Regions from separate parts of the Homo sapiens genome. Here region 1 is linked to region 2. Evidence: promoter capture Hi-C in 16 types of primary human blood cells and fetal thymus (Javierre and others, 2016). All regions are on one chromosome and are shown on one strand. The core of a region is centred on a gene start or on the middle of the fragment in contact, and the rest is flanking DNA. Distances in the headings are between cores, read along the strand shown.

Region 1 (4,224 bases), core at 1,069-3,568, 270 kb before region 2:
TCACCCAGGCTGGAGTGCCGTGGTGCGATCTCCACTCACTGCAACCTCCGCCTTCCGGTTCAAGCAATTCTCCTGCCTCAGCCTCCCGAGTAGCTTGGACTACAGGCGCCTGCCACCATGCCCAGCTAATTTTCTGTATTTTTAGTAGAGACAGGGTTTCACTGTGTTAGCCAGGATGGTCTCGATCTCCTGATCTCGTGATCCACAGCCTCGGCCTCCCAAAGTGCTGGAGTTACAGGCGTGAGCCACTGCGCCCAGCCCAATATTGTTATTTTTCAAATGAATTAAAGATTGAAAACATTTCTTTGTTTTTATTTCTAACTTGGTAAATATTACTAGTATAATCCATATAAACAAAAGCTTTTTGGAGTACTCATGCTCTAAGAGTGTAAGGGGTCTCAAGGCCAATAAGATGAGCCCCTTAGCTGTCAGACAAATCATTAGAAACTGAAATTCTGGAGGGAAGATTCCATACACTTCAACTACCCTGCCACCAGAACGATTATATCAATTTCCTTTTCCTCACAGTACATAAATGTGCCTCCTTCCTCATATCATGGTGAGAGACACATGATGACAGGTTTATTGTAGTATGTTATTAGCATGGAGCCTGTTTTGTTGAGAGGAACCTGACACAGAGCAACTGCTCAAATGTGTTAAATGATTCAATGAATGGAGAACCCGGCAGGGCCCTTTTTGCTGGTATCTCTTTTCCCATGTTCTCATTAGGACTCAATAAGTCTAATAACACTGGGATGATACTTTCTTGGAAACCTAAGACATAAGATTTCAATTCAAAACTTTTAGGAAGGAAGAAAGCCATTCTACCCATTTTATACTTCTTAAACTGTTTTCATATACTTGGAGGATCAGTATCACAATCTGCCTATACACAGAGGGAACATTTTTAAAATTCTGTGCAGAAAAGAGTTAATGTAGCAGGCCTAAGATTGCTATTCTTTGAAAAGCCTGCTTATAAAAGTTGGCCCTTGGCTGGGGGCTGGGATCTTGGATTTTGGGCAATGTTCTACCATTCCTTAACTCATATAAGTGTCTCACTGTACCTAAACTATTTGTACAAACTCTATAGCTTATGCTGAAAATGTGCTTTCTTTCTGAGAGTTTGGGATTTTGGTACATGCTAGGCATACAGTGCCTAGATGACTACATCTCAATAAAAATCCTGGCACAGAGTCTCTAATGAGCTGCCCTGGTAGACAGCATTTTGCATGTGTTGTCACATTCATTGTTGGAAGAATTAAGAGTGTCCTGTGTGACTCCACTGGGAGAGGATTCTAGGAAGCTTGAGCCTGGCTTCCTCCAGCTTTGCCACAGGCACCTTTTCGCTTTGCTGATTCTGCTTTGCATCTTCTCGCTGTACTAAATCAGTCTGACTATATGCAGAGTCCTGTGAGTCCTCTTCCATCGAACCATGGAGACTCTGACACACATTCCCATCCAAAGTACGGAGGTTATTGTTGATTCTCTACAACTCTCACCTCCCAGATGCTTTGACACATGCTCCAGGTAAGCTCATGTTGTGACAGCCATATAAAACCTTGAATTAGCATCCCCAGCAGATAGAACAAATGAATAAAATATGTGAAGGCCAAGAACGTGAAAGTCATTTAACTCTCCATTCCTCAATCATGCACAGTATGGACTGCTGACAGATGACATGGCTCACTCACCTGGGGAGAAATACTGGTTTCTGTGCTAGATGTTCACGAAGCTCAGGCGAGGTAGTATCTGAATTCATGTATCGCTCCACGTAGTCTGACCAGCGCTAAGATGGCAAACACAAAATACAGGTGGAAGGAAATCACAAAAACAGCTCCTAATGCATTGGGCACTCTAGTAAATTCTATGATTACAATGCCCCGAATTCATAAATTTCAAGATCAAAAAAGTCCCTTTCTATAAAGACATGATTGTTAGTAGGTATTGGAACACGGATTAAAAATTCTGTTAGCCAGCAATACTGCTAAGTTTCTGAGGTGCTAAGGTTATGAGAAGTCATAAACAGGTAGAAGCTGGCTCACTGACAAGTTTCATTTCCCCACAGAGCATTTTGTTAAAGAACAAAATTTATAGTGGCAAATGTGTGAAAGTTTCCTTCACATTACAATCTAGATTTCTGACATCGCTTAAAAAAAAAAAAAAAAAAAAAGATCTGCCAACAAGCCAACATTCCCACCAAAACAAGTCATCCCACACGACCCCCCCCAACATCATACATATGGCCTGCATCTCCTGTGTACATTATCTGCCATAACCAACTATGATAATCACACCTGTCTATTCAGGGGTTGAAAACTCTGGACTTTATCAGTCCAATAAAAAGTAAACATGACACAAAGAATCAAGATGACATGAGAAAGACCTCATTTGTTGTTTTTTATACTTTAGGAAAAAACAGGAAAGCTGCCAACCATAAGACTTCCTTAGAGGAGATAGCTTTACTAAGTGCAAGATGAGGTTAACATCTATAACCAGGCAGCCCGTCTCTTCAGCTGAAGACATGGCTGGATTGACTTGTACTTTAAGCATCCAGGTCCTGACCCTTAAACAGGCCTGAGGTGCCTTGGCCTTTTGGCAGACAGGGTCACTGGACAGACTCTCAAGGCACGCCAGCTCTGCTTGGCACCTGGGGTCTGTGATGTACTTGCTCATACCTCTGCTTCCACAGGGTCATCCGAATTCTCCTCTTCTGTGTCCAGAAGCTCAATAGTCAGCTGGACCTGGCCTTGGCTCTGAATAAACATAAGCTGCAAATAAGAAACCTAAGCGTAAACAAAAGACCGTCTCTGTAGCTGTAATCTATCTTCTCAAGGAATGAGAGGTGCAGAGGCAATAAACTTAGTAAACTTTGCTCCAACTGAAGAGATGAGGAAGATACTAGATCTTGGGTGGCCAGTGATAAAGGCAAAAGTCTACACTTACTACAAGTAAAATGAAATATATTAAAGCAAAAGGTACTATTTCATGTTTCAAACTTCTAGAATTCGCTAAAATAATAATCAATGTCAGTAAGAATGTTTTACAAAACAAATATTTTGTCAGAAAGAAATATGGCACATGTAGCCAGAACCACAAAATGTCAATGCTCTGTCCATTGGTAATCCCACTTCTAGGACGTAATAGAGGAGGTAACTATCAGAATCACATGGAGAAGGTCAGAGCCTGGAAGGAAACCTGAGAATTTTTTATTTCAACCTTCTTCATTTTACACAGAGACAAAACTGAAATTCAGAAGAGTTCTGGTTTCTCAAGGCACACCACTAATCAATATACATGCAGAGCCAGAAGCTAGATCTAGCTCAGTGTTCTTTTAAAGCTTTAAAAATTGCTCTCTGCTAGTAAAGCTTACAACCTGACAATAACATAATATATACACACACAAATACAGTTATTTCCAAAATAGATTTCGGGGTGGGGGCAGACCCTGCATTTTCACAATTTATAATTTAAGAATTGCAAAATCTGTCTCCAGTATTCATAACAGGATGTCATTAACCAGTCCCCATAGTGGGTTGGACGTCTAGGATGTTTCCAACTATTTGCTTTTATAATTATCCATTATAATGGTGAAAAATTGGAAACAACCTAAATGTCCACCAATACAGGCATTAATTCTCTAAAAAGTGAATATCAAATAGCCATAAAAAAGACAATAAAGACCCAGAAGTGTTGTTAATTGAGCAAAAATACATTAAAGACCATTTCCGGTCAGATGCAGTGGCTCACACCTGTAATCCCAGCACTTTGGGAGGCTAAGGCGGGCAGATCACTTGAGGCCAGGAGTTTGAGACAAGCCTGCCCAACATGGTGAAACCACATCTCTACTAAAAATACAAAAATTAGACCGGGTGCAGTGGCTCATGCCTGTAATCCCAGCACTTTGGGAGGCCAAGGAGGGCAGATCACCTGAGCTCAGGAGTTCAAGACCAGCCTGACCAACATGGTGAAACCCTGTCTCTACTAAACACACACACCCACACAAGCTGGCCATGGTGGCACGTGTCTGTAATCCCAGCTACTCAGGAGGCCGAGGCAGGAGAACTGCTTGAACCCAGGAGGCGGAGGTTGCAGTGAGCTGAAATAGCACCACTGCACTCCAAGCCTGGACAACCTGGACAACCTGGACAACAAGAGTGAGCCTCCATCTCGGGAAAAAAAAAAAAATTAGCTGGACATAGTGGTACATGACTGTAATCCCAGCTA
Region 2 (3,876 bases), core at 1,086-3,585:
CACCTGGCTGATGCTATCTTTTTTTTTTTTTTTTTGAGATTGGAGTCTTGCTCTATCACCAGGCTAGAGTGCAGTGGCACAATCTCGGCTCACTGCAACCTCTGCCTCCTGGGTTCAAGCAATTCTTCTACCTCAGCCTCCTGAGTAGCTGGGATTACAGGCATGCGCCATCACGCCCAGCTAATTTTTTGTATTTTTAGTAGAGATGGGGTTTCGCCATGTTGGCCAAGCTGGTCTCGAACTCCTGAGCTCAAGTAATCCACCTGCCTTGGCCTCCCAAAGTGCTGGGATTACAGGTGTGAGCCACTGCACCCAGCCCTGATGCTATTGTTAAACTCAGTTTGGAGAAAGGCTATGTGGACAGAAGATAGATCACAGGGAAGGGGGGGGTCCTAAAAGCACGTGGGGAAAACGTATATTCTGTCTTAGAGATGCTAGGACGAACTGTCTTTAGAATGAAGGCTGCCCCATGACAGGAAGCAAGGTTTTAAGGTTACTTGACTGAGAGACTCCTCATACCCTTTCCCCTCTTGGGGGTTCCAGACTCACTGAGCTAACTTTCTGGTAACTGGGCTTCCCAAGGGGTAGCCCAAACTGCCTTGATCTATTGATGCAGAAATTCAGTTCTGCTTGACAGTTTTATTTCTCTGTGCAAATTGATACCTAGCCTTCTGGGGTTTGTACATAGGCCTTTATTCTGGTCAAATGCCAGACCTGCGAAGGGAGTCGGATCCACTCACTGAACCAGTGAAACTGGGTTTTGGAGCCAGAGGTCTGGGAACCATGTCCCTCAAAACAGCCAAAGGTATCCATCTTTAGCAGAACTACCTTGTACCAGTTAATCTGCAATAAGTGACTAGGGAGAGAATGAAGGGAAGATCTAGCTAGACAGGGTAGACAAGACTCCAGGGTATAGCCAGGAAAGGGAGTCCTCCTGAAGCCTTTGCCTCATCTTAGGCACTTCCTCCTTCAGGAAGCTTTCCTTGATCCTTGCTCTACCCAGGCTGGGGTAGGTACCCTCATGTGCACTTTTCATGGCACTAACTAGTCACACTGGGCAGGGAGCATTTGTCTACTTGTCACAACATATCTGAGCTTTTGGAAAATAAGGATAATGTCTTATTTGTCTTTGTAGCTCAGGGGCCTGGTGCAGAGTAGGTACTCAGTTAATGTTTCTTGAGTGCATGACTTGGCTGAATGAATGACTGAGACAGAATGGATTGATTAAAGACAAGAGAGGGTGGACTGTAAGCCCCCCAGGATAGAAACCCCGACTGCCTTGTGGTGTACTACTCCCCAGTGCCCAGCACAGTGCCTAGCAGAATCAATGCCCAAAGTGTTCCCGATATGCTGACCGAGGGTCAGATCCCACTTGCCTCTTCTCGAAGATTCTCTACCTGACCACTTCTCTCCTTGCTGCCGCTGGCTAGCACAGAACATCCAGTCCCCGCTGCTGTACTAAGCAACACGGAACCGGGTGGCACCTAGACTTGTTCCCTGTCGCTGCAGATGTAGAGTAGTGTCTTTCCCTCCTTCCAAGCTAGTCGCCCAGGGCAGGGTCGCCCTGTCTGGCTAGGGTGCTGCACCCGCAGCTCTCGGTATCTTAGGTCAGACGCCTGGAACGCGCAGGCCGTTTCTGTTCCTCCGGAAAACAATCTCTGAGCTGCGCCACGACCCGTCCCTGCGGAGCAGGAGTGGGGAATGGGAAGGTGGGAAGGCGAGTCCGCGACTCTGCTCCCCAACCCCAGCTGGCGCGGCGGCTTTCCACGCACCCCCCTCCCCCCACCCCGATCTCCCGATCCTGGCTCTGGCGCGGTGCTCCTTGCAGCCCCACGCTTTGCAAACTTTCGGAGTTTTACTCCATTTGCGTCACGGAAAAGGCAGGAGGATGACGGAGTCCAGGAAGCGAGGCAGCGGCAGCTGGCAAGCTCCCCCGCCGGGCGCTCCAACCACGGGGGCGTGAGGTGTCTCCCGGCGAGGGCGGACAGGCGGAGGGAGAGGAGGGGAGGTGGCGGTCCCAGGGACCAGCCCCGGAGGCTCTCGGGCCCCCTCGTTCCCGGGTCGTTTCCTCCCTCTCGCCTCCCGGACTGAGCGCCAGCGAGCGAGGGCGCTGGCCAGCTGGGAAGCCGCGCGGAGGAGTAGGCGGGGGCTCGGCTGCAGCGCCCCGGGCCCGCGGGAGGGCGGAGCTGGCCGTCCCTGCCCCGCCGGGACGCACGGAAGTGCAGCGGAGTTTGCCCGATTCTCCAGCCTGCTTCCCCCTCCCTCCTCCCTCTCCCCACCCCTCACCTCCCCTTTGGCGATCCCCTCCTTCCTCAGGACGCCACCTCCCGGAATCGCCTTTTTGTTTTGGAGCTGCCTTCTCGCTGGCGGAGCGGAGGGTCTGCGAGCGCCGGGGAAGGCAGGCTGGGGGCGCAGCCCGCCCCCCACTGGCCGGGCCCCGCAGGGCGGAGAGGAGGACGGACGGACAGACGGCTGGCCGCGCCATCTGCTCGCCGGAGCTCACTCTCCAAACTCCAAACTGTTGAGTGTGTGCGTGCACGCGAGGGTGGTGATCGGGGGTCGTAAGTCCCGGGTGAGGAACCGGTTTCTGCTGGGGTTACCTTTGGACGGGGTTCCTGGGATTCAGAGCAGGGTCAGCGTCAGGCTCAGAAACTGCTGAGGAATTAGGCAAACAAAAGAGACCACTCAGCGAGTGGCTAGAAGTCGCCCGACAGCCTCGTCGCGCCCCCTCCTTCCTCCGGGGTTGGGGCTGGCCACTTCTGGGGCGGGGAGAGGGCGCCCGAGCCGGCGGGGGCTCCGGCTGCGCAGCCGGGGTCGAAGAGTTGGCGGCCTGTTGTGTAAGCCTCAGTCCTTGTTTTCCCGGCCTGGCTCGTTGTGAAGCCGGACACATCCACCCTTGGACTCGATTCAGGCGGCTGCTGCTTTTCTCCTTGCCCCTCTTGGATTTTCCGGATTTTTGAAAACCCAGTGGCCCAGGAGCAAGAGGAGGAAGGAGGAAGGGGCAGATCTGCAGAGGAATGTGAGAGCCTCCCAAAGCGAGAGCCGCCAAAAGAATCTGGGAGCCAGAGGGACAGCCGAGCCCTGCCCGGGTTTCTGGAATGGTGGTTTCAGAGTGAGTCTCTTCTATTTTAGAACGTTGTTCCAGTGGAAAGTGTCGAATTTTTCCCCTCGCAGGGCAGATTTCTCCAGGTCACTTGACTTTTCTTCTGGGAGTAGGAGTTAGGAGAGATTCCCCTCTAACCCCCCAGAGGCTGCTAAGGGAGGAGGAGACTGTGGACATGAGCCCTCCCTGCTCACAAGCATATGCCCGGAGACCTGATAGGGCAGTTTCTGGGCCATGGACATTGCTTTGAAGAGGGGGAGACTGGACAGCATCTGTGGGTGCTGAGACCCCACCTTAGGACCTGAGAGATTGAACTGTGTAAGCGCCATTCAGCTGCGAGTGCATTCTTGGACTGCCTTGTGAGCATCCCCGGTCTGGGCAGGACCCTCTCCTTCCCATCTTTCTATACCACCCAGCCCAGCCATGGCACTGAAAGGCCGAGCCCTCTATGACTTTCACAGTGAGAACAAGGAGGAAATCAGCATCCAGCAGGATGAGGACCTGGTCATCTTTAGCGAGACCTCACTGGATGGCTGGCTGCAGGGCCAGAACAGCCGTGGGGAGACAGGGCTCTTTCCTGCCTCTTATGTGGAGATCGTCCGTTCTGGCATCAGCACCAACCATGCTGACTACTCCAGCAGCCCTGCAGGCTCTCCCGGAGCCCAGGTGAGCTTGTACAACAGCCCCAGTGTGGCCAGCCCAGCTAGGAGTGGTGGGGGCAGTGGCTTCCTCTCAAACCAGGGTAGCTTTGAGGAGGATGATGATGATGACTG

What was found. The method cuts DNA at HindIII sites, captures the fragments that hold promoters and counts their contacts. A CHiCAGO score of 5 or more calls a contact.
Region 1: a fragment that was not itself captured here is called in contact with the fragment with the promoter of SNX33 in region 2 in 5 of 17 cell types (naive CD4 T cells, naive CD8 T cells, total CD4 T cells and 2 more); the score reaches 6.2 in naive CD4 T cells.

The regions. Positions count from the first base shown.
Region 1 is chr15:75,378,938-75,383,161 of GRCh38, forward strand. It overlaps SIN3A (SIN3 transcription regulator family member A), which reads right to left. Exons shown (of 21, transcript NM_001145358.2): 18 at 2,676-2,768; 19 at 1,692-1,786. Among named protein-coding and RNA genes, the nearest start is that of MAN2C1, 12 kb to the left of the region's middle. The HindIII fragment of the contact is 2,034 bases long and covers 1,302-3,335 here.
Region 2 is chr15:75,645,577-75,649,452 of GRCh38, forward strand. SNX33 (sorting nexin 33) reads left to right here and starts at 2,336. Exons shown (of 2, transcript NM_153271.2): 1 at 2,336-3,876. The coding sequence starts at 3,527. RefSeq lists a silencer at 1,955-2,494 and an enhancer at 2,120-2,811. The HindIII fragment of the contact is 30,102 bases long and covers 976-3,876 here.